2 separate regions of the Homo sapiens genome follow, and region 1 is linked to region 2. Evidence: promoter capture Hi-C in 16 types of primary human blood cells and fetal thymus (Javierre and others, 2016). All regions are on one chromosome and are shown on one strand. The core of a region is centred on a gene start or on the middle of the fragment in contact, and the rest is flanking DNA. Distances in the headings are between cores, read along the strand shown.

The links. The method cuts DNA at HindIII sites, captures the fragments that hold promoters and counts their contacts. A CHiCAGO score of 5 or more calls a contact.
Region 1: a fragment that was not itself captured here is called in contact with the fragment with the promoter of TBL1X in region 2 in 1 of 17 cell types (activated CD4 T cells); the score reaches 5.3 in activated CD4 T cells.

Annotation. Positions count from the first base shown.
Region 1 is chrX:7,141,106-7,147,291 of GRCh38, forward strand. The region is part of intron 1 of PUDP (pseudouridine 5'-phosphatase); the gene reads right to left. It also overlaps a transcript of STS not described here. Among named protein-coding and RNA genes, the nearest start is that of STS, 3.5 kb to the right of the region's middle. The HindIII fragment of the contact is 1,669 bases long and covers 3,723-5,391 here.
Region 2 is chrX:9,461,988-9,467,604 of GRCh38, forward strand. It overlaps TBL1X (transducin beta like 1 X-linked), which reads left to right and starts at 3,071. Exons shown (of 18, transcript NM_005647.4): 1 at 3,071-3,460. RefSeq lists enhancers at 1,002-1,296, 1,671-2,499, 2,327-2,526 and silencers at 2,757-3,336, 3,457-3,596, 3,897-4,046. The HindIII fragment of the contact is 11,363 bases long and covers 1-5,617 here.

The sequences.
Region 1 (6,186 bases), core at 3,307-5,806, 2.3 Mb before region 2:
TAACCCTACAATGGCCTCTAAGAGTTCAAGAGAAAAGAAGAGTCACACATCTCTCACTTTAAATTAAAAGCTAGAAATGGTTAAGCTTAGTGAGGAACACATGTCAGAAGCTGATAGGCTGAAAGCTAGGTCTCTTGCACCCAATTAGCCAAGTTGTGAATGCAAAGGAAAAGTTCTTGAAGGAAATTAAACGTGCTACCCCAGTGAACACGTGAATGATGAGAGTGAAACAGCCTTATTGCTGACATAGAGGAAGTTTTAATGATCTGGGTAGAAGACCAAACCAGCACAACATTCCCTTAAGCCAAAGCCTAACCTAGAGCAAGGCTCTAACTCTCTTCACTTCTATGGGGACTGAGGCATGTGAGAAAGCTGCAGAAGAAAAGTCTGAATCTAGCAGAAGTTCATGAGGTTTAAGGAAAGAATTGCTCCTTGCTCTGTCCTTGAACAGCTCCTTGAAGCAGCAAGTGCTGATGGAGAGGCCGCAGCAAGTTATCCAGGAGAGCTAGCTAAGATCACCGATGAAAGTGGCTACACTAAACAGATTTTCAATGTAGACAAAACAGCCTTCTATTGGAAGAAAATGCCACCCATGACGTTCATAGCTAGAGAGGAGAAGTCAGTGTCTGGCTTGAAAGCTTTAAAGGACAGGCGGACTTTTGTGTTAGTGGCTAATGCAGATGGTGACTTTAACTTGAAGCCAGTGCTCATTTACAATTCTGAAAATCCTAGTGCTCTTAAAAATGATGCTGAATCTTCTCTTCCTGGGCTTTGTAAATGGAACAGCAAAGCTTGGATGACAGCACATCTGTTTACAGCATGGTTTACCGAATATTTTAAGCCCACTATTAAGAATTACTGCTCAAAAACAAATATTTCTTTCAAAATATTTCTGCCCACTGACAACGTACCTGGTCACCCAAGAGCTCTGATGGAGATGTACAAGGAGATTCGTGTTATTTTCAGGCCTGCTAACACGACATCTACTCTGCAGCCCATGGATTGAGGAGTAACTTCAACTTTCAAGTCTTATTACTTAGGATATGCATTTCCTAAGGTTATAGATGCCATAGATAGTGATTCCTCTGATGCATCTAGGCAAAGTAAATGGAAAACCTTCAGGAAAGGATTTAGCATTCCAGATGCCATTCACAACATTCATGATCCATGGGAAAAGATGAAAATATCAATGTTAACAGGAGTTTGTAAGGAGTTGATTCCAATCCTCATGGATGACTTTGAGGGGTTCAAGACTTCAGCAGAGGAAGTAACTGCAGAATGTGATGGAAATACCAAGAGAACTAGAATTAGAAGTGAAGCCTGAAGATTTGACTGAGTTGCTGCAATCTCAGGATGAAACCTGAACTGAATAGACACTGCTTCTTAGGGACGCGAAAAGAAAGTGGTTTCTGGAGATAAAAATCTATTTCTGGTGAAGATGTTGTTGAACATTGTTGAAGTGACAACAAAGGATTCACTATATTAACATAAACTTAGTTGGTAAAGCAGCAGCAGCAGAGTTTGAGAGGACTCCAATTTTTTTTTTTTTTTTTTTTTGAGACAGAGTCTTACTCTGTCGTCCAGGCTGGAGTGCAGTGGTGGGATCTCGGCTCACTGCAACCTCAGCCTCCCGGGTTCAAGTGATTCTCGGGCCTCAGCCTCCTGAGTAGCTGGGACTACATGTGTGCACCATCATGCCTGGCTAATTTTTGTGTGTGTATTTTTGGTAGAGATGGGGTTTTGCCATGTTGGCCAGACTGGTCTCGAACTCCTGACCTCAAGTGATCTGCCTGCCTCTGCCTCCCAAAGTGCTGGGATTATAGGCATGAGCCACCATGCCTCGCCAAAAGAGAATTTTTTTGTAAAAGAAAGAATCAAGTGATGTGGCAAACTTCATTGCTGTTTTATTTTTTAAAATTGCCACAGCCACCCCAACCTTCAGCAACCACTACTCTGGTCAACAGTCAATATCAAGACAACACCTTCCACCAGCAAAAGAATTACAACTCACTGAAGGATGACATGATCCCTAGCACTTTTTTTTTTAAAGCAATAAAATGTATTTAAGGTTATGTACATTTTTTAGACATAATGCTATTGTACACCTAATAGAATACAGTATAGTATAAACCTAACCTTATGTGTACTGGGAAACCAAAAACTTCATGTGACTAATTTTATTGCGATGTTTGCTTTACTGTGATGGTCTGGAACTGAACCCACAATAGTTCTCACACATGCCTGTATCCAGTTTACTTAAAGATTCTAAATAAAACCATATTGCTTTTATTTGAAAGAGAGAGCTAGAAAAAAGAAAAGGATATTTTACACCTGCATGCCTAGAATCTGCTGAATATTTGTGTTGCCAGCTGGACAAAACTCTTATTATTTATCTGCAGAATTTTGCAATTTAAGTTTTACCCCCTTCTCAATTATTCTAGAAACAGAAACAGCTGCAGTGGACAACCAACCACTTACTACAAGAACTTAAGGTTGGCATGGTTCAGGTCAATTAGAAAACAGAACCAAACGGAGCTAAATCTATAATCTGATGCTGTTTCTCCAACATACAATATAGCATCTTACTCTAAATCTCTTCGGACCCTTAATAGGAACACACGTGTCTTGTGCTTTCTATATTCCAGAAGCCTTTTCAGTTTCCAGAAACAACAGATTACTCATTGATCACCCTGTAGTGAAAGGCCAATCATGGCCCCTGAGATAAGGGTTCATCTCTGTCCCAAGCCCTCACACTGGCCTCCACCCTCAGCCATCTCCTTTGCAAACGTGGAAGAGAACCTACATTTCACCTAGCAAGGGTAAAACCCAAGGGTACACTGTCAGCCTCCAGGGAAGACAGGGCAAAGAAAGAATGTGAACCTACCACCAGAGTTGCTTTGACATCCAGAGCAAGACCCATTACAAATGATGGAAGGAGGGGAGATTGTGATTACGATCTCATTCCAACTAGGATCACTGCACGTTCTGGGGTTAAACAATAACCACCTATGGAAGCATGCAGAATGATCCTTCACTTTGCTCCACCTTCCTCAGAAATGTGCCAAAACTCTTAGAAATCCCACTTGGAATGAATGACTTGATAACATCAAGTAGTAAGAACCGACTGAGGCTGAAAAGCTTGTCAGCTGCACTTTTAAACCTCAGACGTATTTCATGGGGTCAAATGACAACATACATAGATTCTTCTGACAATCCACCTAGGGCATGCGCTAATATTACGTAAGAAAAATCTATTTTTGTCATCAGCTATATAGATGTTCTGGTGTCTAAAGAAACAGCCTACATGAAGTTAACAAAGAATGACAGCGCAAAACACACTCACGCTATGTCTGTGGAATTTTGGCCACACAGTGGACATGACTGTCAACTGTCTCAGGCAGCCCACAATCCCATCAGTACTGGGCTTGGTAATCCCCACAGAGACCCTACCTCCATGACCTTTTAGGGTCTCCTGGGCCCCAGACAGTGAGGCAGGCACTTATAGTCTCAAGTGCTATTATTTGGCAAGGAGGAAGCTACGGGAGTGCAAAAAGGCACAGAAGAGGTCTTCATTTTACTAAAGGTGAAGTAGAAGTCACTCATTAAAATCCTGCAATCTGGATTTATAAAGATATGGTATATTATGGTCAACACTGCAAATGTTCTTATTACCCTTCGCAGATCTACCTTATTATTTTACGATATTTAAGAAACTGGAAATAAGCTTATTTTCCTTTGATTTTAAAAGGATTTTAAATAATTCTGTATTAGACTCCAAGAAAACACATTTTACACATACCACATTTTACATACACCAAAACTCCTAATTCTGAATATTCTTAACACCCACCCTCTGCCTGACCCTCCCAGCATAGCCATTATCAACAGACATCTTGGGTTGCTCCACAAAGACCTAGACCCATGCTGTCCAAGCCAGTAGCCACCCACCAAATGAGGCTACAGAGTGCCTGAAATGAGGCTAGTTCAAACTAAGATGTGTTGTATGTATAAAACACACACAGATTTTGAGGACCTAGTATCAAAATTAATGTCAAACACTTCAAAGATTTTCTTATACTGACTTTGTATTAAATAATATTTTTGATACATTAGGTTACATAACATACATCATCCAAATCAATGTCATCTGTATCTTTTTACTTATTAAAAATTGCTCCCCAAAATTTTTACCTGGCTCAATTCTATGAGACAGAACTGCTCTGGACAACAAACTGTCTTCTCTTTTAAAGAAATTGGGACCATCTTTTGTGTTCCTAATTTCAGTTATTTACAAACAGAATAATCTTCCCTGTCCAGCTGCTGAGATACTGTTTAATAATTGTCATCTTCTTATTTCAAAATCATCCCAGTTTTTAACTAATCCCACTCCCCTACTCTCTTTCTCTGAATGGCATTTGAGAGCCAAAATTATTAATATTACCTAAATCATAACTGACTCTTACCTTGGTCATGAGAAACAGAAACCGAAGTGTATTTTTTTTTTTTTTTAAAGGACAACTAACAGCATCGTGCATGTCAAAAGCATGGGAAAGTGTCCTGGCTTTCTTCCTGGTCAACATTTCCTCTAAAATCTCCATTTACTTCCTCATTCTCCTCTGATTAAACAATCTTCTCCTCTAATGTTAACAATCCTCCATGAAACTATTCGTTTTCAATTTTACTTCCCCAAGTATGCAAGTATTGGGGCTACATAGACAAACAGAACTTCCTAGAAAAATGCATTCAAAATTCCCGAAAAACAGACCTATTGTAAAATAACTCATTATAAATTGATAGTATATTGTTATGCAAACAACAGATACACTGAAGTGAGGTGCTAAAGAATGACAGCAGGCATAATCTGGTAGATTAAATTAAAGTGGCACATCTTGGAAAGCTGTGTTTTATATTTACACATTTGGTGAAAGAATGGGATAAACAAAGGTATATTTCCAAGAAAGTTTTGCAAGGCCTTACCACCTCAAAGAAGAGGTAGGGCAGGAAAGGAGGAAATGGGCAGAAAATGAGGGGGGGGAATAAAAAGAAGCAGGGCTTATTTTTCCAAATAGCACTAATTCTTGGTTATCTGACTAGATCAGAGGATTGGGTAACAATGTGAGGTCAATGCTTGTAATGCCATTTAAGTCACATTCATCACTTCAGGGCATGGCTATGTGTGAATCTAGAATCAGAATTAGGCACCAAGCTCATTTAGAAGTTTAATAAATTTAATTTTAATGAGACATCTTGTTTGGTATTAAAATTCATGAGACTCCCAGAACAGGTTCTCTGGACCTTTATTAGAGGATAAGAAATTTATTTGACAATTTAACTTTTTGACCACCGGAGTAGGAAAATTCATGTCTACAAACTATACCTATGTATCCCACAAGCTTTCTGAAATTGAGTCATTTCAAATTTAGTAGCTGCATACACCGTTGGCTCCAATTAGTGACCTCTACGGGGATTTTTTTTTTCCTTTGGAATTCATCAGTTTACACCTCTGTGTTCATAAAATGAAGAGAATGGTTTCTGCATGCCTTTTTAAAAGGAAACACTGCTAGGGAATTACCCAGCAATATGATGAGCAGAAACAAGGTCACATTCACAATTTAAGATGAGCTCAACATCATTTATATTTAGAACTGGATCAATCCAGAATCGTTTCTCAGCTTGGCTTATTAGCTGTGTGACCTTGGGCAAGTAGCTTTACCTCTCTGAGCTGCAGGGTTTTTTTTTTTTTTTTTTTTTTAATTAGTGACATGCAAATACTTCCTCCTAACTTGCAGGGTTTTGAAATGAAGGAATGATATACGTAACCAAGCAGGTCAGCTGTCTACAAAGAGTATGCAGACATGTTTATAGATATATGAAGCCTCCTGGTGATTATGTGTCATAGTGTTAACTGTGTCAAGGCTTTCGGTAGAGCTCAGCATAGTTCTGTCTTGAGTTAAAAACAGGGTTTTATTCTTTGAATTCTACTTGAATTCCTCTTGGCTGGTGAAGTTCACATGTGCTAAGACTGACTACCTTAGTACACTGCCAAGGGTTTCTTAATGCCTCGGATTGATAGAGCAGCTGTTCTCAAACGTTCACGCGCTTAAAATGCAGATTCTGATTGGGCAGGGGTAGGGTGGGGCCCCAGCTTCTACATTTACAAGTAGCCCACAGGTGATGTCCCCGGTG
Region 2 (5,617 bases), core at 1,821-4,320:
CCAACTTACCAATTTTTTTTTCTTTTACGCATCATGCTTTTGGTGTTCTAGCTACACAGTCATTACCAAACCCAAGGTCATCTAGATTTTCTATGTTATCTTCTAAGAGTTTTTATAGTTTTGCCTTTTACATTTGGGGGTATGTTCTATTTTAAGTTAATTTTTGTGAAAGATAAAAAGCCTAGTTTTTTTTTTTTTTTTGGCATATGGGTGTCCAGTTGTTCCAGCACCACTTGTTAAAAAGGATGAATTGCCTTTGCTCCTTTGTGAAAGATTAGTTAAGTATATTTGTGTGAATTCCTACTGCCTTTTAATTAAAATTTTGGGTACTGTTTATGGGGAATGCTGGTAGTATTTGTTGCAAGCAGATTCTTGTTTTCCCCTCCCTCCAGTCAATAACTGAAAATAAGTGTTTGCAACACACACACGCGCACACACGCACATGGCTAGTGCAGTGGGTTTCTGTGTAAATCACTGTGGACCCCTCGCCCTGTTATCCTTTAGCTTTCTCAGAATACACTACCTCCTTGCCGCTCTACTTTATTTCCTTGTTTTCTCCCACCTTATAGGACTGCACATTTGAAAAATCGTTGAAACAGATTAAATAACACAGTCTAATTATCACCCACCTACAGTCCATCTAGTATTTCAAAAAGAGGAATTTTGGTGATTTCACGATAAATGTAGGCGGTCTCTCTTCCTGTCTTAGGTCTTACAGTGTCCTTTGGGGTCCTGTGAGTCTATGATAAAAGATATTGACTCTTTACGGGTAATAAGGGTGGTGGGATTATGGGGATATTGTCAAACAGTCAAGATGAATTCTCAGCTCTTTTGCATTGTCAATTACAGGAGCTCAGCTGTAAATCCTGGCCACACTGGGCTCCAGTTTGAAAGTGAGGATTTCCACCACTTTCCCATACTTTAAAAGACTGGCATCTGCCAAGTAATCAAAACACACAAAGAGGCCTTTTAACCAAGTTTAGCTTGGAATTTCCAACTGCTAACCACAAGCAGGTCTGGCAAGCTAGGAGGCTGGTTGGCTGCGCAGCTACTCCAGAGTGTGCGGTAGCCGAGGGCTGCGTCCGCGTAAAGCCCAGAGCTGTAATGATGTCAACTTGTTATTTACTTTCCAAATCTGAATGACTGAGCAAGGCGAAAGGAGAATCAATCAACCACAATGTGACCCTACAGGCGGAAAAAACGCAGCACTCCCACCAGCAGGCGGTGGGGGAAGGGAAGCACGTGTAGCCAGGGCAGGGTTGCATCATGAGCTCGTTCGGGTTTTCTATTGCACCCTTCGTTTTTCTATTGCATGTAATACCTCAGCATCAGTCTGCACAAGCCCAGGGAGCCCAGGAGCAACGAAGGGCAGGCTCAAGGGAAGGCCCCACCATGTCCTTCTGGGGGGCCTTGAATGGCAACTGATACATAATAAGACACAATCTATTCTGCTGATTCACAATTATGGAGACTGTGTAAGTGTGTATTTTTTTATTGATGTCCTCTAATGATGGTGTAGCAACAGTCGTTTTGCATCATTGACGTTTTACAGCAATATTTTGCAGGGTAATTTTGAGGTCCGCCGTTTTGGTGGAGGACCGGCCTCTTAAAAACTCACCTCCGGCCGGGCACGGTGGCTCACGCCTGTAATCCCAGCACTTTGGGAGGCCGAGGCCGGCGGATTGCCTGAGGTCAGGAGTTCAGACCAGTCTGGCCAATATGGTGAAACCCCGTCTCTACTAAAAATACAAAAAAAATTAGCTGGGCGTGGTGGCATGCGCCTGTAATCCCAGCTACTCGGGAGGCTGAGGCAGGGGAATTGCTTGAACCAGGGTGGTGGAGGTTGCAATGAGCCGACAGCGCGCCACTGCACTCCAGCTTGGGCGACAGAGCGAGACTCCTCAGAAAAACAAAAACAAAAACAAAAAAACAAAAACCTCACCTTAGGTCCCCCTCCCCCTACAACCAGAACAACAAATGGTCTAGAGTTCGAGGAAGAGCAAGTGAGGTTATAGTTTAGATTGCTGAGTGTACCGGGCTCTTAGCACGAAGCTCATTATATAGTAAAGGAAGGGGCAAGAATATTTGAAAAATATTCAACGAGGCTGACCCCAGAGGTGCTGGGGAGGGGGAGTGGAGATCTGTTTAACTGAATTAAGGCTGCGAGTGGTTGGGAGTAGCCTACGTGGAGGGGAGGAAGGAGCGCTGGGGACTTAGGTACACCGGGGCCAGGCCGTGTAAGCCATTGCAACATAAAGCACTTTGCAAGGGCCAGAGGGCTGATGCCTGGGGGGTTGGGGTGGGAGTGATGAGGCCCGAGTGCCCAGGTCCCCCCAACCTCCTCAGCCCCCACACCCGAGTTCCTGGCGCCTATGCCTGTGTGTCTGAGTTTGTCCCTAAGCATTTCTGGCTCTTCTTGGGAGGTGTTTTGCAAAGGTCGAGGCTCCGCCGGAACCCCCACTTTTTGAGCTGGGGTAAAGACTACTGGGGTGTCTTCTAAGACGCCGATTTTGAGGGAGATTCACCATCGGGCAGGTGGCAGGGGGTTCTGTTGGGGCAGCCGGGTGGCTTCCTTTTTGGGGTGGGGGAGGGTAACACTTTAGCAGTGATCGAGGTTCCCCTGCCCCCTAGAAACTGAGGGGGTGGCCGAGGTTCCCGTCCCCTCGAGGCAGTCGTGGAAAGGCTGGGTTTGGGATGTGATGGGGGTAGCCCTGGGGTCCTCTCAGTCCCACGGAGGCCACGGGGAAGGGACCGGGACCAGAGCAACTAGGGAGAGGCCCGGGTTCCCCTCACCCACCCTAGGCGTGGGGGAGCGGGGCGGGCTTGGTAGGGACGCTGGTCCCCCGACCGTGGGACAGGGGCTGGGTTGGGACGCGGGTCCCCACTAGGAGCCGCGGGGGAGGGGCAGGGCCGGAGTCCCTACCCTCGTAGGGGAGGGGCTGGTTCGGGACGCGGCTCCCCCGGGGCGCAGGGGCGGGGCCGGGTGGTACGCCGGGTCCCCTCCCACGGCCGTGAGGGAGGGGCCGGCGGCGGGGGCGGACCCCTGGCGGTCCTCCTGGCTGGGGTCCGCGCGCTCGCGGCAGCTCCCCGTGGAGGTCACTGTCCGTGCCAGTCCCTCCCGCTGTCCCGCCCTCTCCCGCTGCCGCCGCCGCCGCCGCCGCGCCCGCCTCAGCGCCCCCACTCCGCGCTTGGGAGCGAGGAGCCGCCAGCGCCCCCGCCCCGCCGCCGCCGCAGCGCCCTCAGGCCGCCATTCGCCACCGAAACTTTCCAGCGCCCGCGCTCTCTCCGGGACTCGGCGGCGGCGGGGCGGGGGCGGCCCGGGGGCGGCGCGCGGCTGCTCCGGGGCGCCGGGCCCTCTTCGGCCGCCGCACGGCCGGGACTCGGAGGCTGCCGGCTGGAGGGAGGTTCGGAGCGCGGCCGGGCGCGCGGCGCCGCCACAAGTTGCGCTGCTCGCGACGAGGTGAGTGCGCAGGGCTCGGCGGGCCGGGCGCGGGGTCCGCAAACTTCTGCGGGGAGGCGGGTCCCGCGCTGACCCTCCAGGGTCCGGCCGGCGGCTCGGGGCGCCCGAACGCTCCACCCGCCCCTGGAACTCCTGTAGGTGCAGGTCGCCAACTGTCCCCGCGGCGCTCGGACTGGGGTGCGGCGCGCTCCCAGGAGCCTGAACAATACCCCGAGGTGGCCGCTCCCCGAAGTGCCGGCGCGCCTTGCGGGGAGAGACGGAGGTCGGCGGGGGGCTCCTTTGTTTTGGGGAGGGGGAAGTGGCCGGTAAGTTTAGGGAAGCGCTCGGCTTTTCCTCCGGTGCCCCTTTGTCTGCCGATTCAGGGGCTTGCTGGGCAAACCTGCGCCACCGCGGGCTCCGGGGACCGGGGTGGAGGGCGGTGGCGGGATTTCCCCGCTGTTGGGGAGAAGAGCCCCATTCATACCCGGGACGCGGGCCGGCCCTCCCGGACCCGGGTGGAAGCGCAGCCTCGCGGAGTGGGGCAAGCGGCGGGCGAGGTGGCGCGGGCCCCGTGTCTGCTCAGTTTCTGACGCGCAGAAACTGTCAAGGAAGTCGGGAGCCCCAGTCCTCCGCCCATCTCCCCGGCCTGAGCGCACGGCTGGGCTGGGGGCACCCTTGGCCCGTCGAGGGTCTGCAGAGCGCCGCCCGGGGAGAGCGCAGACCTGTTGCTGCTCCTGGGCTCTGACGGGGCGGGTGGGGTGGGTCTCGCAGATCCTGGGCCCCGGCCTTGCTATCCAGGGGGACCTTCCCTAACGATGGGACCGGTGCTCGGAGTGGAGTATGGGGAGTGCGCCTTCGGGAGTCGGCGCTGGCCGGATATGTGACAACTGTGGGTCGCTGGAGGCCCGCCTGCGCTGGGATAGGGCCTGGACTTCACGTGCGTCGCCTGTGTTCCGTCAGACCGGGGCCGGGGCTCGCTCCCTGCAAGGCCTCGTGTTCCCCCAGCCAGCTGCGTTGGACGTTCCACAAAGGTAGGGACTGACGTTTATTCTCGAGTCAGTGATGTTCTGGAGCAAAACCTAAAAAGAAACAAAAACCTACCCTCTATTGTATTTGCAACTGTTTCTGCTTTGCATTGTCATGTGTGGTTTGACCTGCCTTTTGGATGTTTTCCTCTCCTGAAACATCGCCCAGTCCCTGGTTTAACCTGGAAGGCGAGGGGGAAGGAAGGCAACCTCCCTGCTAAGGTTCCAGGCAGTGGCTTTGGTGTTGGAAGTGGCACTTGACGATTTTATGAAAAGTTTACAAGTCCTTCCTAGAAAAGATGTAATTAGGAAAAATAAAATACAGAAGAACGTTGAGTATGACGCGTTTATTTTAAAGGGTAGTCCTGTCTCAAATGTGCTGCACATTTTTGTGGAAAGCCACCAAGCTGGGTAACTAATGCAAACAACAAAAGTTGTTCATCACTGGATCACCGGCCCTTAAGGCGATTCCAGCCCTTAGTAGAACACACACCTGTAGGGCAAATATGGAGATTTGTGGTGTAGTGCTGCCACCCTCGCTCCCCAACTCTCAGGCATTTTGCCCCTTTACCTCAGAGAACTTCTCTCTGTCAGTGGTTTTAAAGAGGAAACAGTTTGCAAAAATAACTTTATTGTAGACATACTTAGAAGTGAATGTTTCAATTTCTGGAGTTTTCCCATCAATTATATCAGTACCACTGGTTCTGTACAACATCATCTTAGTTAGAAGATTTTTTTTCACCTTTTAAGGTGACGAACAGAGGCGGGAAAATGGTCCCTGCAGAGGGAGGCCATCTCCAGCAGGTCCCGAGGGTCAGGAATTCAGATTATCCGATCTACTCCTGCTGGATAGGAGCACACCTCCGCTAGAACCTGGGTCCGGCCCCCTCCCAGTTTTCTGCAGGGCGTCCAGATTCCGGTGCTCTGCCCCGCAGCAGTGCCCTGTGGGCCTCCTGGCTTAGCTGATCAGCACAGCTTCTCTGCCCAGCGAGGCAGGACCATCCTCCCACTGCTTTCCTGATGCCTTGGATTTGCTTTTTTTCCTCCCTTAGGAAAAGCAAAAAAACCTAATATGCTACATCCGAGAAGTTGTTAATCTTTCACTACCACATGCATTGAAAAATCAGTTCCACCCAGGAAGCAACACTAAAGG